Linked DNA regions of Homo sapiens: regions 2, 3 and 4 are each linked to region 1. The links are contacts of gene promoters, found by promoter capture Hi-C in blood cells and fetal thymus (Javierre and others, 2016). All regions are on one chromosome and are shown on one strand. The core of a region is centred on a gene start or on the middle of the fragment in contact, and the rest is flanking DNA. Distances in the headings are between cores, read along the strand shown.

Region 1 (3,874 bases), core at 618-3,117:
CTAAAGCATACACATCCTGGCATCTTGTCCATGGCAAATGCTGGACCCAACACAAATGGTTCCCAGTGTTTCATCTGCACTGCCAAGACTGAGTGGCTGGATGGCAATCCTGTGGTCTTTGGCAAGGTGAAAGAAGGCATGAATATTGTGGAGGCCATGGGGCACTTTGGGTCCGAGAATGGCAAGACCAGCAAGAAGATCACCATTGCTGACTGTGGACAACTCTAACAAGTTTGGCTTTTGTTTTATCTTAACCACCAGACCATTCCTTTTGTAGCTCAGAAGAGCACCCCTTCACCCCATTTGCTTGCAGTATTTTTTTTTTTTTTTTTTTTTGAGACGCTGTCTCACCCTGTCGCCCTCTCCCAGGCTGAAGTGCAGTGGCACGATCTCGGCTCACTGCAACCTCCACTTCCCGGGTTCAAGCAATTCTCTTTCCTCAGCCTCCCGAGTAGCTGGGACTACAGGCGCACGCCGCCATGCCTGGCTAATTTTTTCTTTCTTTCTTTCTTTCTTTTTTTTTTTTTTTTTGTATTTTAGTAGAGACGGGGTTTCACCATGTTGCCCAGGCTGATCTTGAACTCCTGAGCTCAGGCAATCTGCCTGCCTCGGCCTCCCAAAGTGCTAGGATTACAGACGTGAGCCACCACGCCCGGCCTGCTCGCAGTATCTTATCTTTGTGCTCTTGCTGCAGTTCCCTTTGGGTTCCATGTTTTCCTTGTTCCTTTCCATGCCTAACTGGATTGCTGAGTTAAGTTTATGATTATGAAATAAAAACTAAATTAAAAAAAAAAAACAGGGTCTCACTCTGTCGTCTAGGCAGGAGGAGTGCAGTGGCCCGATCATAGCTCACTGCAGCCTCGAACTCCTGGGCTCAAGCGATCCTCCCGTTTCAGCCTCCTGAGCAGCTGGGACTACAGGCACACACTACCATGCCCAGCTAATTTTTACTTTTGTAGAGACTGGAGGCTCTCTCGCACAGGCTGGTCTTGAACGCCCGGTTTCAAGCAATCCTCCCACCTCGGCTTCCCAAATTGCGGAGATTACAGGCATGAGCCACCATGCCCAGCCGCCCCCAGTTTTGATGGCTAAAGTTAACGTGAGTGGCCCTGTTACAAATAGGAAGTCCCGGGCCGGGCGCGGTGGCTCACGCCTGTAATCCCAGCACTTTGGGAGGCCGAGGCGGGCGGATCACGAGGTCAGGAGATCGAGACCATCCTGGCTAACACAGTGAAACCCCCGTCTCTACTAAAAATACAAAAAAATTAGCCGGGCATGGTGGCAGGCGCCTGTAGTCCCAGCTCCTCGGGAGGCTGAGGGAGGAAAATGGCGTGAACCCGGGAGGCCGAGCTTGCAGTGAGCCGAGATCGCGCCACTGCACTCCAGCCTGGGCGACGCAGAGCGAGACTCCGTCTCAAAAAAAACAAAAAACAAACAACAACAACAACAACAACAAAAACAAATAGGAAGTCCTGGCAACCCCTGCAGGGGCATTCGGTGATTTTTTTCACTAGCTAGCCAAAATTGCGGCTCCCAATGAGCTTTCTTTCACCGAATGTACTCGAAGCCAGGTCTTAGACTTACTCCCTGAGGAAAGAGGCTGAGTTGTTCCGTCTGGGTTCCCGGCACCCTGCACTGGGAGGAATACTCAAAAGGCGTTGGTAATGTGTTAATGGACAGAGGGACACACGTGTCGAATGCTCCTCGGTGGCCCCGCCCCCTCCGGCCCGCCTTCCCTCCTCTCCGCTGAGTGTGCTTCCCCTCCGTCATCCATCGCTCGGCGGTCTTCTCTTCTCCATGGGTCTGCTCTGCGCGTTCCATCGAGTTTCTCGGCCATCGCGCGCCTGCGCCATTGGGCTGTCAGTCAGAGGCGGCGTGGAGATCGCTGGGAGCGGTTGCGGCGTGCCGGGAGCTGAGTTATAGCTGTGACTTCTGCCCTGCCAGGCCGCACACAAGCTGGCTGACCCGGGTGAGCAGTGCGGTGGGGCCACTCATCTGAGGGAGGCGGGCATGTCGAACTGGGCCGAGGTGGACCCGAAGGGGTAGGAGAGGGTGCTGAGCCCCGAAGTTGTCAGCTCGACTCCCTGCTCGACCCGGTGTAGCTGTGTCCGAAGTAGAAGGGAGGTTGGGGATGAGAATCCGAGCCAACCACCTTATGCAACAGATGGAGGAACTAAGTTTCTAATCTCAGCTACTCGAGAGTCTGAGGCAGGAGAATCGTTTGAACCCAGGAGGTGGAGGTTGCAGTGAGCCTAATTCGCGCCACTGCACTCCAGCCTGGGCAACATAGTGAGACTCTCCGTTTCAAAAAAAAAAAAAAAAAGAAAAGAAAAGAAAGAAACGAAGTTTCGGGGAGGGTTCTGCTTAAAGTCACAGCGAGTGAGCGAGCACCAGACCGGTACCAGACGCCTTTAGCACTGTGCCTGCACTCTTTCAGCCTCAGCCCTTCATTCATTTGTTCAGCCTGCCTTTAGTTGTTTGGATGCAGGGCAGTGAAATATAGGGAGGAGCAGTGAGGTCTCTGCCTTCAGGCAGCACACGTGGAATGACAGACCAATTCTGATACAGTTTTCTTATCTATTTACAACTGGAAAAGGCATGAGTGCTATGATGCAGGCAAGTCTGAGATGCGGTGAACACCCTCTCCAAAGCTTGGGAGGCAGCGAGACTCGTTGCCATGATTCCCGTCAGCCATAGTCGTGGCAGTGACATGAGCATTTGACAGTCTGCCTGGTAGCATGATTAGTTATGTTCATGATTACTATTCATGCTTCCTAGGTTGCCTTTCTTCACCCAGGGCCTCCTTGAGAGCTGGAACCTCAGTTCCTAGTGACCTGGGTTCTAATGCCCTTATGCACATGTTTGAGTTTGACTCTTATACAGTTGTGAAGTTCACAGGTCCTCATTCCACTTTGATTTCTGGCATCTGACTGGGAATACAGTGATGATGCACACACAGTCCAAGAAAGTCACTCTTACACTCTTATGTAGACATTTAAGAGACATTAATGTTACACTTAAGTAGACATTTAAACACATACGTGCAATGAAACCCGTAAAGGCTAAGAGAATCTGCACATGGCAGAATGGAAGCACTTCGGGAAAAGGAGTCACTTCTGGAGGGGTGGGAACGGTTAGGAATGGCTTTGTAGGCAAGAGGATTCTTGAGCTGTCTTCAAAGTTTAATAGGTGATTACTAGACACAAGAGAAAGGCAGACTAGGAAGCAACAGTAGCAGTGCAGAGACCAGAATTATGAAGCAGCATGGCTCAATTAGTACGAAGGTTTTCCATAATCTAGTCTCTGTCTAGTAAAGCAAATACAAATATAGTGCTTCTCATAAGATGGACATTATTGGCCGGGCGCGGTGGCTCACGCCTGTAATCCCAGCACTTTGGGAGGCCGAGGCGGGTGGATCATGAGGTCAGGAGATCGAGACCATCCTGGCTAACAAGGTGAAACCCCGTCTCTACTAAAAATACAAAAAATTAGCCGGGCGCGGTGGCGGGTGCCTGTAGTCCCAGCTACTCGGGAGGCTGAGGCAGGAGAATGGCGTGAACCCGGGAAGCGGAGCTTGCAGTGAGCCGAGATTGCGCCACTGCAGTCCGCAGTCCGGCCTGGGCGACAGAGCGAGACTCCGTCTCAAAAAAAAAAAAAAAAAAAAGATGGACATTATTTTGTCTGCTTTACGTAGAATAACAAATTTAATCTTAACAACAACTCTGTGAAGTGAAACTATAATTATCCCCATCATAAAATGCAAAAATTGAGGCATAGAAAATTTACGTAGTTTGCCCTAGTTCACACAGCTAATAATAAATAGTAGAGCTAGAATTCAAACCTAGGCATTCTAGCTCTATGGTCTGTGAACCTA
Region 2 (3,874 bases), core at 1,022-3,521, 280 kb after region 1:
TTGTTACTGAATAAATGCAGAAGGACTCTAACTTAGGCCGATATTGGAAGAAGCTGTGGCCAGTTACAACTCTGGAGGACTTCATCAGCATAAGAGGTTTTGTTTTGGTTGGGTGCAGTGGCTTGCGCTTGTGATCCCAGCACTTTGGAATGTGGAGGCAGGAGGATCACTTGAGCCCAGGAGTTTGAGGGCAGCCTGGGCAACATAGGGAGACCCCATCTTTACAAAGAATTAACTGGGCATGGTGAGCTGTGCCTGTAGTCCCAGCTACTTGGGAGGCTTAGGTGGGAGGATGACTTGAGCCTAGGAGGTCGAGGCTGGAGTGAGCCATGACTGTGCTACGGTGCTCCAGCCTGGGCAACAGGGTGAAACCCTGCCTCAAAAAAGAAATAAGATTTTTTTTTCACAGACTTCTACTGAGCACCCATTGTGTTCCAGGTCCTGAGTTGGAAAAAGATGAATCAGACCCAGTCCCTCCCTGGAGTTGCTCAGAGGTCTGGAGGAGAAAGGCATAGAGGTGAGTAATCACTAATGCAGTGCATATGTGCAGTACTCACTCACTCACTCACTCACTCACTCAGCAAACATGCAATGAGGACCTAACATGCTGGGGACTGTGCTGAGGATATAAGGATAAAAGCCATGATGGCTGAGCTGAAATTGCACACAGTCTATGTAAGGGGAAGGTACCATTTGAGAGAACAGTGCTCTGATGGAGGGGGGTTAAAGGAGGGGAGGTGGGGGCAGGGGTGGTTCAAAGGAAGAAGGGCTGACATTTGGGCAGGGGTTGAAGGCAGGGTCAGGGAAGGGCTTAGGGAGTCAATGCTTAAGCTGAGAAGTGATGGACGGATGAGGAGGAGTGGGCAAGTTTGCCACACAGAGGTGAGGTGGGGAGAGGAAGGTGTCAGTGCTACCCAATCTAGTCTTTGGGATTGTTTGATTAAGCTTCCTAACATGATTCTACTACCAGGTCATCCCCTTGCTCCAATGCCAGTGACAACCCTCTGGTGCAGGGTCTGACTATTACTTAGGTCCCTGTACCACTCTACCCCTTCACTGGCAACTCCTCTCCAGCCAGGACACTCTGCTCCAGCTGCTAACAGATTTTAGCATAGCATTATTTCTCAACATACAAGGCCCACATATGCACACAGACCTTGCAGGGGTCAAAAAATACAAAACCGACAATGTTGCTGAAGGAATAACATGCCTGACATTCAGTTTAAGCACTGCTGCTCAAAAATAACCTAGGTTGGAAGTGGCCTCCAGAGCTTTGTTGATCTTCCCCAGGATCTCACTTGCGTACGTGAACCTCAGTGCCTGGCTGCTCCTTATGCTCTCCTCCCCGGGCTTCCTGAACCTGGGGCTCAGCCTGTCATCCTGGACACAGGAGTCCCTATCCCTATACTGATGCCCAGACCATTCCTGCTTACTGGGGCTGTCTGTCCTGGTCTCCTGGGCCCTGCCTACTCTGACATCCATAAGCTGCTTCATTCTCCTCACCAGGCAGTCCCCTGTGCTGTCCATGCTCTCTTCCTGGGGCTATGTACCCAGCTGGGCCAGCACATTCTTATTTTGTCATTTGAACCACCCCAAATTCCTCCTAATTGGCCTCCAGCCTCAAGTGGTTCCCTGTGGCTCTGGCCCACCTGGCATAGCACCACCCAGGCCATCTTCGGAGGCACTGCACTTGCTCAGCCCTCACCTGTGCACAGCTCACTTTTCAGCGGCTCCATGCTGCATACTGGAGAGACTGCCACCTACCTACATGGCATTCAAGGTGCCCCTCCATTGCTCCTAGCCTACCTTTCCTAGACATAGACCTTTACCATCCCTTCTCTAAATGACCTACCCATTATTCCCAGGACACACCTTGTACTTCCCTGTCTGCCTTCCTTTCTACCATTCCCCTTTCCAGAACGAACTCCTCTCCTCCTTTCGACCTTCCCAAATCCTCCCTATTCTCCACGGCTCAGTTCAAACACCACCGTCTCGGTGAACCCTTCCTTAATCTCCTCCTGTTGAAAATAGAATCTCCTTCCTCTGAACCACTATAGGGAAAGGGAAGGAAATTATATCGTTTAAATATCTGCCATGCGCTATATGTTAAAAGCATAAACTTTAGAGTCAGGCAGATCTGGCTAGAATCCAATAGCTGTGTAACCTTGGGAAGCATACTTAATCTCTCTGTGCTTTATTGTTGTATCTTGAAAAACATAAAAATACGTATCTTTACCATTCATTCATGGAAACATTTGAATACCTAATATGTACCAGGGTTTGTACTCTTATGGTTATTTTGTTGTTATTGCTGTTGTTTTGTTGTTTTTTTTTTGAGACAGAATCTTGCTCTGTCACCCAGGCTGGAGTGCAGTGGCGAGATCTCGGCTCAATGCAACCTCCGCCTCCTAGGTTCAAGTGATTTTCATGCCTCAGCCACTCAAGTAGCTGGGATTATGGGCACATGCCACTACCCCTGGCTAATTTTTTTGTATTCTTAGTAGAGACGGGGTTTTGCTGTGTTGGCCGGGCTGGTCTCAAACTCCTGGCCTCAGGTGATCCGCCTGCCTCGGCCTCCCAAAATGGTGGAATTACAGGCGTGAGCCACCATGCCTGGCCTCTTATGGTTATTTTGAGAAGTAAATGAGGTGATGTATGGAAAGTGGCTGGCACATAGAAGTTCTCAATAAATAGGCCGGGTGCGGTGGCTCATGCCTGTAATCCCAGCACTTTGGGAGGCCGAGGCGGGTGGATCACGAGGTCAGGAGATCGAGACCATCCTGGCTAACGCAGCGAAACCTCGTCTCCACTAAAAAATATAAAAAATTAGCCGGGCATGGTGACAGGCGCCTGTAGTCCCAGCTACTTGGGAGGCTGAGGCAGGAGAATGGTGTGAACCCGGGAGGCAGAGCTTGCAGTGAGCTGAGATTGCGCCACTGCACTCCAGCCTGGATGACAGAGCGAGATTCCGTCTCAAAAAAAAAAAAAAAAAAGTTCTCAATAAATAAAAGCTCCTGGCCGGGTGCAGTGGCTCATGCCTGTAATCCCAGCACTTTGGGTGGCTGAGGTGAGAGGATCGCTTGAGGCCTGGAGTTCAAGACCAGCCTGGGCAACATAGTGAGACCTCGTTTCTGCAAAAAATTAAAAAGTTAGATGGATGTAGTAGTGCACACTTGTGGTCCTAGCTACTTGGGAGGTTGAGGAGGGAGAATATCTTGAGCCCAGGAGTTTGAGGCCACAGTGAGCTATGATGGTACCACTGCACTCCAGCCTGAGCAGCAAAGCAAGACCCTGCCTCAAAAAAAAAAAACCCAGCAAAAACAACCAACCAAATACTACGACTATTCAGTTTAGTTTCTTAGAAGAAGGACATTCCTCAGGGTGATTTCTGTTTAGCCAGGAAGCATCACATAAGACTGGGAGCCAGAGCCAGCTCTGGACCCAGGCAGATTCTCGTAACCGTTCAGGCACCCTAGGCACCCTGTGGTTGACGCAAGGCATAGGTGTGACTGACATTTTCTGAACCAGCATCTTCCATCTGCCAAGGCTGTCTCAGACACTCAACATCAAGGCTCTTTGTGACTAAGAGAAAGCTTTTGAGAGCTGATATGTCTGGCTCTCGGTGCCCCCTTCTGCAATCTGGAGGCTCCCTACCTTCATACTGGACTTCCAGGTGCATCGTGCCCAGCACCTTCAGCACGCAGTCCACGATGCTGGGGTGTGTGGTCCCAATGATTGGCTGACCAGACAGACAACAGGACAAGGTGGTTAGTCTTTTTTTTTTTTTTAAAGATGGATTCCCGGCCGGGTGCGGTGGCTCACGCCTGTAATCCCAGCACTTTAGGAGGCCGAGGTGGGCAGATCACGAGGTCAG
Region 3 (3,874 bases), core at 804-3,303, 290 kb before region 1:
GCTGAGGCAGGAGGATCACTTGAGGCCAGGAGTTTGAGACCAGCCTGGACAACATAGCAACACTCTGTCTCCGCAATAAAAATAAAAATAAAAAAATAAGGGCCACTGCACTGTGGTCTGGGTGACAGACAATGAGACCCTATCTCTAATAAAATAAAATAAAGTCTTTCTCTAGTACATCACCCATTAAGTCTTTTTCGGGGACAGTTTCTGTTGATTTATTTTTTCCTTTGGGCCATATTTTCCTGGCTTTTAAAAAATGTTTTGTGATTTTATTGTTGAAAACTGGACATTTGCATCTAATGTGGAAACTCTGGAAATCAGATTCTCCTCAGGGTTTGCTGGCATTTGTGATTGTTTTTGTTTATTTATTTATTTTTTAAATTTTATATGCAGTGTTTGTGCCAAAGATCAGCCTGAGATGAAAACTTAAGGTCTTCTCAGGTCTTTTCTGAAACTGCACCTTTTCCTAGGCATGTATACTTTTAAATTTTAATTTATATATTTTAACATACAAAAACCACTTTATATGCAATTGTTTTTTAATGTCCTAGTCTTCAGTGTCTGGCTCCCAAAAGGGGAAAAAATGAAAGAGAGAAGAAAAGGATCCTGGGCCTTTAAATCCCCAGGAAGTCACTTCAACTATAGAGGAGGGACTTGTGGCAATGGAGGGAGGTGCAACAACAATGGCCCTTTGACTCTCTGCACTTCTGTTACCAGAAGCAGTAATCAGCAATCAGAGCACAGATCCCTGATATTTGGAGAACAGAGCCATCCTGGCTCCCACAAGCTATGTGCAGGTTGCTCCAGGAACACATCATATCATTCTCCTTGTTGGTGGGAGATGGGTAGCTGCTCCTGTGGTAACAGTTGAAATTTACTGAAATTAACTACAATTTATCACCAAGTCTTCCCCTGGAAGTTGCAAGCTTTCAATAGACTCTGGATTTCCAAAACTGTTACATCAGACAGAATCTGACAGTGCAATTGTTGTCTAGGTGGGGAGATATATTCTTGGTTCTTCCTACTCTGCCAACTGCCCAGAATCATCTCCAGATTTTTGTTTAGATAGAAGTGCAGGTTCCACTCTAAGAAAACCTTGGGGATGTAGGTATCTGAGGGAGTTTGTAGGTCTTAGAGTGGAAGTTCAAGAAGATACAGAAGAATGATTGGGGACCAAAACAAAGAAGGAGGCTGGGTCAGTTGAGAGGATGTATAGAACAGGTAGAGAGTTACAAGGAGAGTTAGAAAGGTAAGGTGACACCTTTGGGTGGAATTTATCTTAAGCATTCCTTGGTGAAAGAGGTACACACAGGCCAGGTGTGGCTGAGAGTCTTCCTGTAGTGATTTGGTAACAACAGGGTACTGGACTCCTGCAGCTTCATATGTGGGTGCAATATAAAAAGAGGGGGTTAGGTGGCCCAGAGCATCTGTCCCAGGGTCACATGGTCACTCAGACCCAGGGCCCAGTTTGTGGGGGGTCCCTGCCTCCCTCTCCAGTCTTCATTGCACTCTGCTGCAGACCCAATAGCCTCCTTTTAGACCCTCCATCATGCCACGTTCTTCCCTACCATAGGAGGCACATGCTCTCTGCCTGGGATGCCCTTAGTCTTCCTTCGGATCTTGACTAAAACATCACTTCTTTGGATATACCCTAGATCCCCCACCATTCTCTCTCATCACATTGTGTATCATTCCTTCAAGAACTTATCACAGTTGTAATTTTACATTTATTTGTGTGTTCATTTGATTAAAGCCTCTCTCCTCTTTCTTGTCTGTAAGTTTCAGAGGGACCATGCCTGTTTTATATACCGGGTCTCCCAGCATTTATCCCAGTACTTACACAAAATAGTTGTGGTAGTTAAAAAATGTCCACAGGCCAGGCACAGTGGCCCACGCTTGTAATCCCAGCACTTTGGGAGGCCAAGGCAGGAGGATTGCTTGAGCCCAGGAGTTCAAGACCAGCTTAGGCAACATAGCAAGACCCTCATCTTTACCAAAAATACAAAAATTAGCCAGGTATGGTGGTACATGCTTGTAGTCCCAGCTACCCAAAAGGCTGAGTTAGGAGAATCACTTGAGCCCAGGAAGTTGAGGCAGCAGTGAGCCTCATGACACACGCTACCATGCCTGGCTAATTTTTGTATTGTGCCATACTGCACTCCAGCCCAGGCAACAGACTGAGACCCTGTCTCAAAAAAAAAAAAAAAAAAAAAGTCTACAAATGTTTTAACACTTTTTTTTTTTTTTTGAGACAGAGTCTTACACTGTCTCCCAGGGTTGGAGTGCAATGGTGCCATCTCGGCTCACTGTAGCCTCTGCCTCCTGAGTTCAGGCAATTCTCCTTTTCTCAGCTTCCCAAGTAGCTGGGATTACAGGTGCCTGCCACCATGTCTGGCTAATTGTTTTTTGTTTTTGTTTTTGTTTTTTGTATTTTTAGTAGAGATGAGGTTTCACTATGTTGGCCAGGCTGGTCTTGAACTCCTGACCTCATTATCCATCCGCCTCAGCCTCCTAAAGTGCTAAGATTACAGGCGTGAGCCACCCACCGTGCCTGGCCCAACACTTTTTTTCAAAGGCAGATGTCTATTTTTCCTCCTCGTGAATGTAAGGCCAGACTTAGTGACTTCCTTCTAACAAATAGACTGTGGTGGAAGTGACTGTGTGTGACTTCTGAGGCTGGGTTAAAGAAGATACAGCTTCCTCCCTGCATTTTTCTCACTCTTGGATCACTCATTCAGGGGAAGCCATACCATGCTGTGAGGTCACTGAGGAAAACCAGAACGCCCCTGTGGTATTCTGTCATAGCAACGCAAAATGGATTAAGACAATGACAAACCAAAAGAAAACAAACAAAAAATTGTTCATAAATATGCTAATTCATTCATTCAGCATTCATTGCAAAACTATTTTATTATTAGTCATCTATTGCTACATAACAAATTTCCCCAGAACTTAGAGGCTTAAAACAACAATAATCATTTATTCTTTCTCATAAGATATAACTTGGTATGGTGGCTCTCGCTAAGAATTAGCTAGATTCTGTGGGAGGCCTCAATTCCTCTCTAGTTGATACCTGGAGAGGAATTGAGGCCTCCCACAAACAGCCAGCAACCACTTGCTAGTGATGGGAGAAAGCTACCTTGAAAGTGGATTCTCCAGCCCCAGTCAAGCTTTCAGATAGCTGCAGTTCTGGTTGACATCTGAACTGTAACCTCACAAGGGATTCTCAGCCAGAACCACCACACCAAGTTATATCCTGTGAGAGATAATAAATGATTGTTGTTGTCTTAAGTCTCTAAGTTCTGGGATAATTTGTTATGTAGCAATGGATAACTAACCATAAAATATTTTGCAATTAATACTGAATGAACAAATCAGCATATTCATGAACAATTTTTTGTTTTCTTTTGGTTGGCATTACCTTCATGCATTTTGTGTTGTTATCCCAGAATACCACAGACTGGGTTATTTTATTTTATTTTATTTTATTTTATTTTATTTTATTTTATTTATTTTATTTTATTTTATTTTATTTGAGACAGAGTCTCACTCTGTTGCCCAGGCTGGAATACAGTGGCATGATCACAGCTCACTGCAGCCTCAACCTCCTGGGCTCAAGTGATCCTCCCACCTGAGCCTCCCGAGTAGCTGGATCCACAGGTGCATGCCACCATACCTGGCTGATTTTTGTATTTTTTGTAGAGATGGAATTTTGCCATGTTGCCCAGGCTGGTCTTAAACTCTTGGGTTCAAGCAATCTGCCAGCCTCAGCCTCCCAAAGTGCTGGGATTACAGGTGTGAGATACCATGCCCAGCCCAGACTGGGTAATTTTAAAAGAACAGAAATTTATTTCTTAAAGTTCTGGAGGCT
Region 4 (3,874 bases), core at 668-3,167, 260 kb after region 1:
ACTCTGTCGCCCAGGAGGCTGGAGTGCAGTAGTGTGATCTTGGCTCACTGCAGCCTCTACCTCCCGGGTTGAAGTGATTCTCCTGCCTCAGCCTCCCAAGTAGCTGGGATTACAAGTGTGTGCCACCACACCCGGCTAATTTTTTATTTTTTATTTATTTTTTAGTAGAGACGGAGTTTGACCCTGTTGGCCAGGCTGGTCTCGAACTCCTGACCTCAGGCGATCCGCCCACCTCAGCCTCCCAAACTGCCAGGATTACAGGCGTGAGCCACCGTGCCCGGCCTGTTTTTGTGATGGGGTCTTGCTTTGTTGTCCATGATGGCTTCCAACTCTTGGGCTCAAGAGATCTTCTTCCTTCAGCCTGCAGAGTAGCTAGGATTACAGGTGCAAGCCACCGTCCTAAACTTGGACCTGCTTTTTAACTTGAGGAGCACAGGCACCACAATCTAGCATCATAGCTCTCACTTGACCTCCCTTCCCCCTCCACACACACAAAGAACAGACAGGTATCAAGGCTGTTTATTGACTCTTCGCAGCCAGCGGCTCTTCCTCTGCCCCTCTGGGATGCCTAATCCCCGTCTCCCCCCTGGAGCCAAGTGGAGTGGCTCTGAGCTTGACCCCAGGCGCCTTCCTCTTGCCAGGCTTCCCTGCCCCGCAGCCTTGGCCTTCCTGGTTTGCCACAGGGGCTGTTACTCCTTTGATTCTACATCCTCCTCGAAGTGTGTGAGGTAGGCCATCTGAGCCGAATCGCGCGAGCCATAGAGAGTGTTCATGCTGTAGGAGCTGCCATGGAGGCACAGGGCTGCAGGCAGGAAAGGCGGGCGTGAGGCTGTGCTGGCGGCGCCTGCGCCCGGCTTCCCTCGTCCCACACTCACCTTTGGTAACATTGACTGTGTTGGCCGCCAAGATGTCCGCCTGAATGCTGTCTATTTTCATGTACAAGTCCTCAGCGTTGCTCTGAGGACAGGAGCAAGGGGGACCCGGCTGGGGTGCCAGGGCAGTCTGGACTTGGAGTTGGGCTTGGCAGAGGGATGTTGCAGGTGGGGGGCGGGTCGGCAGCCTGACCGAAAGGGCAGGAAAGGGAACAGGAAGGTGGCGGGTGGAGGAGCCTACGCCAGAGCAGTCCCTCCTGCAGCTGGTGGCCAGGTCCACTCTGCATGTGGCGCGCTCCAGGATGGGGACTGTCTGAAGGGGCATCACACTGTCCGAGCCGCCATCTGCTCATTGCGGCGGGGCAGGAAGGGCGCACTTACCAGGAAGAGCTGGTAGAGTTCCTCCCCCATGCACTTGCGCACGTGCTCCGCCACCAAGGGGAACATCTGCACGAAGCACTGCGCCGCGCGGGCGAGGCGGCGTGACTGCGGGGGCGACGGGGCTGCGGGTGCCGCCGCCCTTCCCGCCCCCTAACCAGCCGCCGCGCGCACCTCCAGCGTGAGGCTGGCCAGCCGCTGGCTGTTGCTGTGGTCCGTGTTGCCCATGGCGGCCATTAGGCCACGCACCACGCGCAGGTACAGCAGCTCCTCGGCGATGCTCATGTCGTTGCGCGCCAGGACCCTGGGCCGGGGGTTCGGGCTGGGGCGACGCCCTGGGGCTCACCCGGCGCACACCCCCGCCCACCCGGCGCACGGAGCGCTCCCGGGGCCCGCCGGCAGCGCCAAGCCAGGCTTGCTGCAGCTACCCACTAACCCCTGCCCGCTTACCCGATGGCCTTGGCGGCCGCGGCCTGCTGCAAAAACATCGGCAGGCTGGGGGTGAGCTGGAGAACCGAGGGGTCTGAGGAGGGGGCAGCCGTGAGGCAAGAGACCGCCCTCCCGTGGCCCAGGCAGCCCCATTTGAGCAGGTCCTTACCACTGAGGATCTTGGCCTGCAGTTTGGAGATCTCCTTGACCGACGGTATCAGCAGCGCCACGAGGCCCTTGAGCAGCGCCTGGCGCACATCGTAACCGACCAGGTCTTTGATCAACTCGATGGCTGCGGAAGGGCAGAGGTGCTGGAGAGAGGCCCCAGGCCCCTCCGCCACCGAGGAAGCAAAGAACCCCGTGAACCAAGTCGCCACTCGTCAGTGTCCTCCTCTTTTACTGATCAGCACTGTGCAGGGCGTGGGGGAGCTGGGAAGGCGAACCTCAGTTGAAGAGCAGGAGGAGGGGGCTGAAGGGGGAGGAGGAAGGGTTGGATGGTGAGCCCACCTGTCGAGGCGGCCTAGGATGTCAGCGCTGGAGGCTGAGACCCCAGAGAGGGGGGCCTTCGCCTTGGAGGAATCCAGGTTTCATGGAGGAGGGAAGGGCTGGGTCTTTACGGGAAGACAAGATGGAGAAAGACAAGGGGTGAGAGGGAGACAGAGAAAGTGGGTGGGAGACTTGTGGCAGGAAATGAGAAAGGGGAAGGAAGGTAGGCGGCAGTTTAGAGAAACTCTCCTTCTAACCATCATCGAGCCCTCTCCACCAGGCAGGGTGCCAGGCTTTCCATACAGCACCCGTGGAAGCTCACCAGAACCAGATGAGGTTCACTTCCCCATTTTACCTTTGCCGAAATTAGACACAGAGAGGTAAACCACTTTGCCTAAGTTACACAGCTAGGAAGTGATGGAAGCAGAAGGAGGGGAGGATTTGGTTAGGAAGGAGAAGGGGACTAGAATTTATGGAGGGCATTTCCTGCAGGGCTTTCCTGTAGATATTTTACAGGCAGTCATTCATTCAGTCCAGCATTCACTCAGTCTTTCGGCACGGCTGCATGTGAACGCCTATGGTGCCAGGCGCGGCATTGGGTGTTGAGGATACAGACTGAATTCATTCATTCGACCAACCCTCCTTAAGCGTGCACAAACAGGCAGCGATGATATGGTGACAGGTGCTGTGGAAGGAGTCAGTGATTGGGCTGTGGGAGCACAAGAGAAAATCGGCAAGGATTGAATGTTTTTGTAAAGAAGAGAAAGGAACCACAGAGCTAGAGGGGGCAGGAGGAGAAGGAGATGCTAAGATGATGGCACACCAGCATAAATGCTACCTTTTTTTTTTTTTTGAGACAGAGCCTCACTCTGTCGCCCAGGCTGGAGTGCAGTGGCGCGATCTCGGCTCACTGCAACCTCCGCCTCCTGGGTTCAAGCAATTCTCCTGCCTCAGCCTCCCGAGTAGGCTGGGATTACAGGCGCCCGCCACCACACCCGGCTAATTTTTTTTTTTTTTTTTTTTTGTATTTTTAGTAGAGATGGGGTTTCACCATCTTGGCCAGGCTGGTCTTGAACTTCTGACCTCGTGATCCACGCGCCTCGGCCTCCCAAAGTGCTGGGATAGCAGGCATGAGCCACTGGGCCCGGTGGGCCCAGCCAGTAAATGCTAGTATTTTTGTTTGTTTGTTTTTTTGAGACGGAGTTTCACTGTCATCACTCAGGCTGGAGTGCAATCGCTCACTGCAACCTCTGCCTCCCGGGTTCAAGCGATACTCCTGCCTCAGCCTCCTGGGAAGCTGGGATTACAGGCGTCTGCCACCACGCCCGGCTGATTTTTGTATTTAGTAGAGACAGGGTTTCACCATGTTGGCAAGGCTGGTCTTGAACTCCTGACCTCAGGCCTCCCAAAGTGCTCAGGCCTCCCAAAGTGCTCCCAAAGTGACCGAGAACTCCTGCCTCGGCCTCCCAAAGTGCTGGGATTACAGGCATGAGCCACCACGCCTGGACTTTTTTTTAAATTTAAATTTTATTTTTTTTCTGAGACAAGGTCTTACTCTGTCGTCCAGGCTGGTCTTGAACTCCTGGGCTCAAGCGATCCTCCTACCTCTGCCTCCTTAAGTGCAGGGATTACAGGTGTGAGTCACTGTGCACCGGGCACTGCTACTCTGAACACATGTGGCTACATGGAAGACAGGACTTGGCCATGTG

What was found. Contacts are between HindIII fragments. The CHiCAGO score rates a contact against its expected background, and 5 or more counts as called.
Region 2: a contact is called between a fragment that was not itself captured here and the fragment with the promoter of EIF2B3 in region 1, in 2 of 17 cell types (activated CD4 T cells and non-activated CD4 T cells). The highest score is 6.6, in activated CD4 T cells.
Region 3: a fragment that was not itself captured here is called in contact with the fragment with the promoter of EIF2B3 in region 1 in 1 of 17 cell types (M1 macrophages); the score reaches 6.1 in M1 macrophages.
Region 4: a fragment that was not itself captured here is called in contact with the fragment with the promoter of EIF2B3 in region 1 in 7 of 17 cell types (naive CD4 T cells, total B cells, naive CD8 T cells and 4 more); the score reaches 7.4 in naive CD4 T cells.

The regions. Positions count from the first base shown.
Region 1 is chr1:44,984,588-44,988,461 of GRCh38, reverse strand. EIF2B3 (eukaryotic translation initiation factor 2B subunit gamma) reads left to right here and starts at 1,867. Exons shown (of 12, transcript NM_020365.5): 1 at 1,867-1,969. It also overlaps the pseudogene PPIAP35. RefSeq lists enhancers at 1,524-1,573, 1,284-1,865, 1,824-2,093 and a silencer at 1,644-1,733. The HindIII fragment of the contact is 3,433 bases long and covers 1-2,653 here.
Region 2 is chr1:44,703,954-44,707,827 of GRCh38, reverse strand. It overlaps ARMH1 (armadillo like helical domain containing 1), which reads right to left. Exons shown (of 12, transcript NM_001145636.2): 6 at 3,655-3,739. It overlaps LOC105378690 (a long non-coding RNA gene), which reads left to right. Exons shown (of 5, transcript XR_007066059.1): 3 at 439-517. Among named protein-coding and RNA genes, the nearest start is that of RNU5F-1, 16 kb to the left of the region's middle. The HindIII fragment of the contact is 2,648 bases long and covers 948-3,595 here.
Region 3 is chr1:45,272,086-45,275,959 of GRCh38, reverse strand. No RefSeq gene overlaps it. Among named protein-coding and RNA genes, the nearest start is that of LINC01144, 30 kb to the left of the region's middle. The HindIII fragment of the contact is 2,244 bases long and covers 932-3,175 here.
Region 4 is chr1:44,722,219-44,726,092 of GRCh38, reverse strand. ARMH1 (armadillo like helical domain containing 1) reads right to left here. Exons shown (of 12, transcript NM_001145636.2): 7 at 1,849-1,971; 8 at 1,701-1,773; 9 at 1,425-1,554; 10 at 1,254-1,331; 11 at 876-957; 12 at 502-802. The coding sequence ends at 690. It overlaps LOC105378690 (a long non-coding RNA gene), which reads left to right and starts at 1,974. Exons shown (of 5, transcript XR_007066059.1): 1 at 1,974-2,058. RefSeq lists a silencer at 2,362-2,656. The HindIII fragment of the contact is 4,387 bases long and covers 1-3,874 here.